Regions from separate parts of the Homo sapiens genome. Here region 1 is linked to region 2. The links are contacts of gene promoters, found by promoter capture Hi-C in blood cells and fetal thymus (Javierre and others, 2016). All regions are on one chromosome and are shown on one strand. Each heading gives the region's core, a stretch centred on a gene start or on the middle of the fragment in contact. The rest is flanking DNA. Distances are from core to core; before and after follow the strand shown. Region 1 overlaps ERBB4 (erb-b2 receptor tyrosine kinase 4). Region 2 holds the start of ERBB4 (erb-b2 receptor tyrosine kinase 4).

Evidence for each region. Contacts are between HindIII fragments. The CHiCAGO score rates a contact against its expected background, and 5 or more counts as called.
Region 1: a contact is called between a fragment that was not itself captured here and the fragment with the promoter of ERBB4 in region 2, in 3 of 17 cell types (megakaryocytes, M2 macrophages and erythroblasts). The highest score is 6.2, in megakaryocytes.

What each region holds. Positions count from the first base shown.
Region 1 is chr2:212,146,267-212,151,091 of GRCh38, forward strand. All of the region lies in intron 1 of ERBB4 (erb-b2 receptor tyrosine kinase 4), which reads right to left. Among named protein-coding and RNA genes, the nearest start is that of MIR548F2, 280 kb to the right of the region's middle. The HindIII fragment of the contact is 6,037 bases long and covers 1-4,825 here.
Region 2 is chr2:212,537,195-212,542,223 of GRCh38, forward strand. It overlaps ERBB4 (erb-b2 receptor tyrosine kinase 4), which reads right to left and starts at 1,608. Exons shown (of 28, transcript NM_005235.3): 1 at 1,255-1,608. The coding sequence starts at 1,336. RefSeq lists an enhancer at 139-639. The HindIII fragment of the contact is 6,206 bases long and covers 1-3,294 here.

The DNA.
Region 1 (4,825 bases), core at 571-3,070, 390 kb before region 2:
TGACAGACTGCAAACTGCCTTGCTGGGACTTCTATTTTCTGTTTTATTCTGTTCTCTGCCTTTTGCCGATGTCACCCTGTTTTCAGCCTCAACATTAAATAAATAGCCAAATACACAAGTGCCAAGAATTGTTGACAATATAACTCTAGAAGCATATGGTGCTAAGCTAGTAGAAAAACAATTCTTAGCTCAGTAAGTATTCTTCATTTGAAATTGTGCACTATTTCTTCTCCTTCTACTTGAAAAGTCAGCAAACTTGAGGACCAAGTGTCGCCTGGGGATCTAACTTGCATAAAACATTGTGTTGGCTCTGAAGCACTGAGATTCCATAGCAAGGCCAGCAATACATAAACTCCTCTGGTACTCCTACATTATTTATCCCTGAACAGCTAGGGGGCTTTTTGCAAAGACGTCCCTAACTACGGCAAGCATTCACTCTATTTAATGTTTATTTAATTAACAGTGCACAAACACCAATTCTGTGAGTGCAGTGGAGTCTGTGCACATCTTTAGATTTATTTTCTCAATTGATTTGGAAAGGCAGTAGCAGAATGGTGCCAGACATTTCTTCCCACCCAGTTATCCCTTAACACCCAAGAATCTCTCTATCTAAAAAGGCATTGGTTAAAATAGGGTAAAACTGATATGGGGACAAGACAGAAGAAAGGAATATCTGGGGGAAAAAGTTGGCAGAGAGAAGCTCTGTTGTCATTGTTAGACTTTTTTTTTTTTTTTTTTTTTTGAGACAGGGTCTCACTCTGTTGCCCAGGCTGTCTTGCAGTGGCAGGATCTTGGTTCACTGCAGCCTCCATCTCCGGGGTTCAAGTGATCCTCCCACCTCAGCCTCCTGAGTAGTGGGGTCTACAGGGGCATGCCACCATGCCCAGCTAATTTTTTTTTTTTTTTTTTTTTTTTTTTTTGTAGAGATGGGGTTTTGCCATTTTTCCCAGGCTGGTCTCGAACTCCTGTGCTCAAGCCATCCACCTGCCTAGCCTCCCTAAGTGTTTGGACTACAGGCGTGAGTCATGGTGCCCTGTCTTTACACTTTCAAAAGAAGAATTACAATATTATTGTGAAATAATTGAATTTCTTCATTATATAAAATGTGAAGATTTAATCCAGCATCATTTAAGAGTTAGATAGGATGATCTGTAAGGTCACTGTTATTCTAAAATTCTATGTTCAGAATTACCTAGACTAGATTGCCTCTAAGTAGCACTCAGAATGAGACATCAACTGTGGATTTTTATATCCTAAAGCACACAGGATAAAACTCAGAGATATAAAATGAAGCACTCACAAACTACTATCTACCACAGTACATAACTCTAAAAATCTCTGTAAACATATGAGAAAGGAAAGAAGCATCTTCTCAGCAGAATTGAATAAATTGAGGATGTATGTATTGAAAATCTACTTTAGGGTATAAGACTTCTCAGAAATAAAATCAAATCCAATAAAATCAAATTTTGTTAGTTTGAGAAACATTGTAAAGTTTTGTTTTGCTGTCATTATCTGAAGCCTACCATTAACCCTCCGTGAAGAAACTGGCTTTCTAAACTGAGGTAACATAAAGTTTCTTCATATTTGCAATTGTGGGGAGTTGGAATCCTTATTTTTCTCAAGCCTGTGGTCCCTTTTCTGTGATTTATCCTTCTTTCTCCATCTTTCCATTTCTAAGATTGGCCTAATAATCACTGTAATATCAGATGACTAAGTTGTGGATGCACACTTTTTATTGAATTACCTTTTGTGCAGACTTTGTGTTAAATTTTGCATTTATTAATGAACAATATGTTATTAGTAAACTTATTTAAAGGTTCTATTTTATTATTCCATTCATCACCAGGGGGCAGCACAATTCCCAAAGAGTATTTTCTTTTTTTTTTTTATTCAGAGTGAAAAAGTACAATGGCATAATTGGTACCGATTTCTATTGCAGCTAGAGGCATACACAGGATTATTCTACTTTTTTATGCAATGAATATAGACTAAAAACTAGCTGGATTCAGAAAATTGTATCTACAAAGAGGAATATACTTATTAGCAGATACCTCGCATAATTCAAAAAAGAAGGAAAAAGTATCATTAAGTTTGTGTGTTTGTGTATTATCTCTGAGGTACAAGAAAAATAAAATTATTGTTTTCTGAATTCCTTTATGGCACAGAAAAACATATAGGATGGCATTATTTCCCTTTACTATCTTGGGAAAGAAACATAAGTAATACAAAGCCCTAGGTACTTTCAAAGAGCTGAGGATGAAAGAGATGGGAGAAATGTGGAGAGATGGAGATAAAGGGATATTTCAAAGATGAGAAAGACATGGTTGGTTTCCTGAAAGACTTAATACATCAAAGATACCACAGTTTAAGAATAGTAAATAAACAATTATATTTTATTTTAAAATAAAGGACTATAAATCACGCTGCTATAAAGACACATGCACACGTATGTTTATTGCGGCATTATTCACAATAGCAAAGACTTGGAACCAACCCAAATGTCCAACAATGATAGACTGGATTAAGAAAATGTGGCACATATACACCATGGAATACTATGCAGCCATAAAAAATGATGAGTTCATGTCCTTTGTAGGGACATGGATGAAATTGGAAACCATCATTCTCAGTAAACTATCGCAAGAACAAAAAACCAAACACCGCATATTCTCACTCATAGGTGGGAATTGAACAATGAGATCACATGGACACAGGAAGGGGAACATCACACTCTGGGGACTGTTGTGGGGTGGGGGGAGGGGGGAGGGATAGCATTGGGAGATATACCTAATGCTAGATGACGAGTTAGTGGGTGCAGCACACCAGCATGGCACATGTATACATATGTAACTAACCTGCACAATGTGCACATGTACCCTAAAACTTAAAATATAATAATTAAAAAAAAATTTTAAAAAATTTGATTTTCTAAATTCACATACATGAGATTTGGAAAAGTAATTTATGATGAATTTATCTTTCATGACATTCCTGTTTATAAGCCTCCAATTGCTGCCTGGAGTATCACCTTTAAAAGTTCACATACAGTGACACAGAACTTTCAAACTATAGTGCTCGTCACATGTACTCTTTTTTAAAAAATGTGTTGGTTTTTATAGATCCATAAAATAAAATGGGTTATAAAGAGTTAAAAGTTGTAGTAAATTGAACATGAAAATAAACAACTTATGAAATCGGATAATATTTGAAGGCAACAAGTCTACAATATTACCAAATAAAAAAGTATTTTGCTAACTTACAGGAAGGTAGAAATAGAAACAGCGGCACAGTAGCATATGCAGTTAAAATGTTTCAAATATGGTCTTATTTTTAATGTGAAAAATGCTCTTATTTAGAAAAATAAAACATGTACATATGCATACATACAACCCTTCCATTAGCCCTGTTTCTCCATTAAATAATGTCTTTCTTTTTTCATCCTCAAACTGAATTCATTCATTCTTTCTTTTTCATTCACTAAGCATTGCTTTCTGAACTGATTATGCACCTGCCCTTAAGATTTCTCTATTTTGTGGAGTAGACCGACATGGCAACAAATGATTCTAACAAAATTGAAATTTGTGTTTTAAGACAATACAAAGTGTCATGGGAATAAGAACATGCAAGTCATAGACTATAAACCCCTTGAGGACAGGGACCATGTTTATCTCATCAGGAACACTTAACTCCAGTATCTAAAGGAATCCTAGGCAAGCAGCAGGCACTCAACAGATATTTGTTCATTTATAAAATACCCATTTTTCCAGAATCAGAGTGGAAGACGAAACTTGCAAAACCGGGTATTCATTTCCTAAGGTTATTGTAATAAAGTGCCATAAACTGGTGGCTTAGAAAAGCAGAAATTTACCCTCTCACAGTTCTGGGGGCAAGAAATCCTCCAAAATTAAAGTGCTGGAGACAATGCTGCCTCTGAAGCCTCTAAGGGAGGATCTTTCTTTGCCTCTCCCAGTTTCTAGTAGCCCCAGGCATTCCTTGGCTTTTGGCAAGATAACTCCACTTTCTACCTCCATCTGCACATGGTGTTCTCCCTGCATCTCTGTCTTCACATGACTCTCTTCCTATAAGGACACCAGTCATATTGGATTAGGAGTTTACCTACTTCAGAATAATTTCATTTTCCCTAATTACATGTACAACAACTTATTTCCAAATAAGGTCACAATCTACAATACTAGAGGTTAGAACTTCAGCATATCTTTTACAGGCACACATTCGACCTCTAACAACTAATAACATGAATGTTTTCTTCTACTCTTTTTTCCCTCGATCCTCCTTTGCCTTACTTCCTTCCCCCAAGATGAGATAATTTTGAGAATCCAATGGGTTAAGAAACAGTGTGCTGAGGAACACAGGCTGCAGTTTAGACTCTCACCTTTTAAGATTATCCATTATTTTGCCAGACTCATTCTTCTTGTGCTTGGTTTGGCTGTGCAAAATTCCTACAAATTACTCTCATTTATAAGAACTGCTTACATTCATGCCTAATTATCATGCAGTAGAATAACAATTATGCATATCATTAAATTCATGTGAGATAACCTTCAATGTAAGTTTCATTTGATTATGGCACTAAACTCTGTTCATGCATGCTTGGCCTTCATAGCAGGTTGCTCAAGAAGAATGGTTGCCTCTGCCACTTAAAACATAATGACAGTAATACTGGCCATAACCCTAACCTTCTCCAACAGAAATATTGGTTCCATAACTCGGTACCCACCTTGCAAAAGGTTACTGCAATCAAGTCTATGTTAAATACAATCAATATTTCATATATTAAATATGAATGAAAATGGAATATTTT
Region 2 (5,029 bases), core at 358-2,857:
AGAAGGACACCCTCCGGGGGCCTAAAGCGCTCCCTATCGCCACTCCCGGGGGCTTTATCACCTCAAGCTACTTCCCACGCTCCAGTCACCATCCCTGGATGGTTTCGGAAATCTCTCTGGCTCTCCAAAAGGCACCCCTTGGCCACGTCAAGACACCGGTCCTCCTCAGACCTCTCCCGTCCCACTTTCATCCCCAGGAAACTCTAGTGTCAGAAACTTTGAGCTCCATTGCACTGCAGGTGCTGTCATTAGTCCTGCAAGCCGTGGCGGGCCAGCCCCGCCGCGCTGCCTCTCGGGGTCAATTAGCCCTTTGCCTGCCCAGGTACCTGGGGCTCGAGCTCTCCAGCAAGCAGTGGCCGCGCACCCATCGCCGCTGCCGCTTTCGCCTCGGGTGGATCCAGTGACCCGCAGGCTCGGCAGCCTGGCCGGGCAGTAAACAGACAAGTTTGAAGGACTCCGGCCAATAGCAAGTTGAACTACAGGAAGAACTCTTCCCGGAGCCAAACACGGCAACCGACGGGAAGGCCGGGCTTCTGGCTCAAGTGTGCCAAGCCTTTTTTTTTTTTTTTAAGAGGTCAGGCAGGCGAGTAAGCGCCCCTCAAGTCAATGGGGAGAGGGCTCCGGGAAGCCGGCGGAAGAGGCCCAGAACTCCGGGCCCCGGACCGAGGCGCGCCCGCCTGCTGCACTCCGGCTGCCCGGGCTGGGCGCGAGTTGCGTCTGACGCCACAAGGCTCGGGCGACTGGGGGCGCAGCGGTCGCCAGCAGCACACACAGGTGCAAAGCCCGATTTTCTGAGCGCCGCTCTCCACCGCCCTTCGGGCTCGGCTCGGGAGAGGCCCAGCCAGCACCGCCCCAGGACCGCGGCCCCGGCGGTGCGGGTTCTGCCCTCGGGGACCCGACAGGGACAGAAGAGTCTCCTCTGACTGGGGATTTGGGTCTCCCATGTCCCGAACAACAGGCGCCACCAGAAGGGATCCCGCTTAGGCTCCCAAACAAAACGCTCGGGAAAGAAAAGCAGGGGGTTAAGGAGAGAAAAGAGGGACTCAGAGTGATTTTTCACGATAAATAAAGCAAACGCACACATACAGGGTAAGTTTCAAATGGAAAGAGGGGTGACCGAAAGCCCAGGGAAGAGGCCCCGGTCAAGCGGTCCCTCCACGCCTCCCGGGATGGGTGAAGAGGGCAGGGGAGCCACTCGAGGCAGCCCCGCCGGCGGCTGCAGGTTCGGCGACCGGAGTGCCAGAAGGAACCCACCTGACTGAGAATCGCTGGGCTGGACGGTCCCCGCCGCCACGAGAAGGCTCACCCAGACCCAAAGTCCTGTCGCCGGCTTCATTTTTTGGAAGTCTCAGATCCCGTGCTGACAATTACATGTCCAAATGGCATATCCCCCTTTCGGGCACGCGGAGGAGATCCCCCAGCCGGGCGCGCGTGGGGGTGCGAGGGGGGCGGGCGCGGCGCGCGCGGTGTGGCGACTCCCAGGGCGGGCGACCGAGTCCGCGCCCGCGGGTCCAGGGCCGGGGCCCGAGGAGGGGGCGAGTGTGAGCGCGTGTGTGCGCGTGTGGGAGTGTGCTCGGTGTGTGCGCTTGGCGCTCTGGGCCGGACTGTGCAGCTATTTCCCCGCGTGAGCCTTCGCTTGCTCGCTCCCTCCTCACTTTCTCTCTCTCTCACTGGTTGGTCAACAATAAAAAAGGAAGGGGGGCGAAAGGTTTCCAAAAAAAGTTGATTGCAAAGAGGCGGTAGGTTTCCGGCCTCTCCCCGCAGCCGGGCTATGTTCTGCTCCTTCTTCAGTTTCCTTGCACCTCCAGTCCAAATCGGGAGGGGAGCGGGGCGGGGGGAGCTTCTCGCTTCTCCCCGGATCCCGTCCTTCTTTTTCCTCTCAGCTTTCCTCACACTTGTCCGGCGGCTGCGGTAATTAAAGCTCCGAGCGTCATTTCCAGCGCTCCGCGGTCTCCAGCTGCAGCCCACAGAGAAATTAATAAGACTCCAGAAAAAAAAAAAAAAAAGGTGCGGGGGGCGGTGGGAATAAAACAACCCTCCACGCAACCAGGCCGGCTCTGCTCAGCCGCGCAAACCCCGCCCATGCTCTGACCCAACTAGCCACGCCCTTCCCCCCCCCTTCCAAAGGGAAATCTTATTGGCTCAGCCACTCCCCAAAATCCTGGGCCTCCGGAGTTGGGAAAACACCTGTCAGGGAAAGGGAGCCTCTTGGTGGGGGCAGGGGAAGCTGGATTTAAAGGGCTCACCGAAGCCATGCACTGAAGCACTCGTCTTCCCTCCCTGGCAGAGGCCTGGGACAGCTGGCCTGCTGAGTGGACGGACCATTGGAGGGCCGCTTACGGAAATTTTTTTTTTTTTTAAACAAGAAAGTCAGCATTTTCTCCGTTGCCCCACGGTGCTCATCTACAGACAAGACTTTCCCTAGAAATAAAAGTCAATGTTGCTTTCAGCAAAAAGCCTCCGCCCGCAGTACTCTGCCACTCATGGTCCACAATTAGAAAGTACTTTAAAAGTGTGTACAGCAAGTAACTGGTAGCCCCTGAGGATTAGGTAGTGGTAGGGGTATAATCACCGCCCCGCCTCCCGCCCCCAGTTATGCCATCTCTCCGATTACTCCCACATTTCTAAACTGACCAACATTGAGCCAAACTAAACTTTCACATTTATAAAGGCATATCCTTTGATTTTTAGATTTTATGTTTTTTTTTCACCTTTGGAGTTCATTCTTATTAAGCAGATTCTAGTCCAAAGCCACTGATTTGATCTTAAAGGGCTAGAAATTGTCCCCAGCCTGAAAGAATTTAAGGAGGCCACATCAGAACATAATTAACCTTAAATGATTCTGTTTATTCTACAGTAGACCCAGCTTTAGGCCCCTTCCTTGTCCTCACTCTGCACATTCATGGTCCCTAATCTGGAGGTCATTGCTAGTTACGAAAGTCTCTGACCTTTTCTGAATCTAAAATATTCTGGGACTGGGTCATTTCAATGTACATATCCCTTGCCTTTTACAGCTCTGAAACCGCACCCTGGCAAGGGCCAGAATCTGCTGGGGGTAGTTATTGGTTTGCTATTTGTACAGGCATTCTATGTATGAATCACTTTCCTTTTTTGGTTTTTCTAGAAGCAGCAAATATATAAATAAAAAGTATCAGGGGAGCTTAAAAATCAAACCACCCTGCCTTTCATTTGAGACCTTGATCTCCATTTCCCACTCTCTTATCTATAGCCCCATCCCTTAAGAATTTCCATGGAGCTGAGAACAGATAGGAGGTACAGATGCCTGAAGCCTGAAGCTTTCCCTTTCTTAGACCCACAGCAAATAACAGGCTCCATGAAGACGCCCAACAAGCTGAGCGTGCGGTTTTACCAGAAGCAGCCTAGGGCAGAGAGGAACTAAGCCTAGAGCAGATGACGGAGACTTGACCAGAATGGTACTGATTGCAGCAAAACTGTGCACACTGCTCTTTGGGATTATCTTTGTTTTCTTTTCTTTTCTTTTTTTTAATTACTCTTTCTCTCTGTTTTCTCTTCTTTCATTCAATCTCTTCTCATTCCCCTTGTCTTAAATCCTTTTGAAATTCTCAGGCACCTCTCTTCCATAAAAGCTACTTCTTTTCAAAACTTACTTTCTGTCCCTAGAATGACAATTTAAATGAGAAAAACATCTTCCTTTTGTAAAAGTTTAAGTCTCTGTAGTAAAAAAAAAAAAAAAGTCTGGTTTCTGATGGCAATTATGTTGCACGAAGTGAAGGAATGGGCCAGGTGTGGTGGCTCATGCTTGTAATTCTAGCATTTTGGGAGGCTGAAGTGGGAGGATCCCTTGAGGCCAGAAGTTCCAGACCAACCTGGGCAACATAGTGAGACCTCAACTCTACCTTTTTTTTTTTTTTTTTTTAATGAGCTGGGTATGGTGGTGCACACCTGTAGTCTTAGCTATTGGGAGGCTGAGATGGGATAGAATTGCTTGAGCCCAGGAGTTAATAGTTACAGTGAGCTATGATCATGCCACTGCACTCCAACCTGGGAGATAGAGCAAGACCCTATCTCTGAAAAAAAAAAAGAGAGAAAAAGAAAAAGAAAAAAAAGACAAAGTGAATAAATGAGTTGCATATTTTCGCTTAAATTGTAGGGCAAAAACTTCATGGCCTGAATATTTTGGATTTTTTTATAGTTGTGCCAATTATGTTAGTTTTTGTTCCCCTGTCAATTTTATAGCTTTTCTATAACAGAATATCTTCTATATGCCCTGCTCTCACCCATATCTTCTAGAATAATTCTTGACAAAGGAGGATTTTCCATTAATATTCATTGGTTTAAAAAAACACTTAGTATATATTTTTGTGGATATTAAACAGCCCATACAAGGATTCACCTATTACATTACCCAACATACCCACAGTTTCCCTCTAATTCTGTTTGTTCTGCCTTGATCCCCATTTTACTCATTCTAACATTGAAACAACAATTTTAGATATGTGGCCACAGATGGGTATCTGAACAGCAGCCTATAAAATGATTTGACATCAAAGCTTTTGCCAAAAAAAGCATGATATATTTGATGGTGCCTTGTCTACCCAATCAGATTCCAGCTCAGATAATTTGAAATGTAGACAGGAAGGTAGTACCCTGTATGGGCAAGCCAAAGGATGAGAAAGAAGCCATGAGCTCAAGTCAAGAATCAGTTATTTCAGTGTCTACCCTCATTTGCTTCCCATCTCATCTAAGTCATTATAAGAAACAAATACCAGAGTAGGGAATATTTACTAGCTGATGTAGAAAGGACATGATACTTGGATTGTTAGAGGCCAAGATGAATCTCTGTATTTCTTTACTTTTCCATATAGCTTGATAATAAATCCCTATTAGGGGACCTAACTAGAATGTGTTGCTGTTACTCAGAACCTGCATAAAAATTATGTGGGTAACACAATGTGTTACTTAGCAAGCCACGGATGAATACCTGGAATTACCTGCTGAGTGCCCATTTTCCAGAAACAGCCCTTTCCTCAGTTCTACATGTTTAACT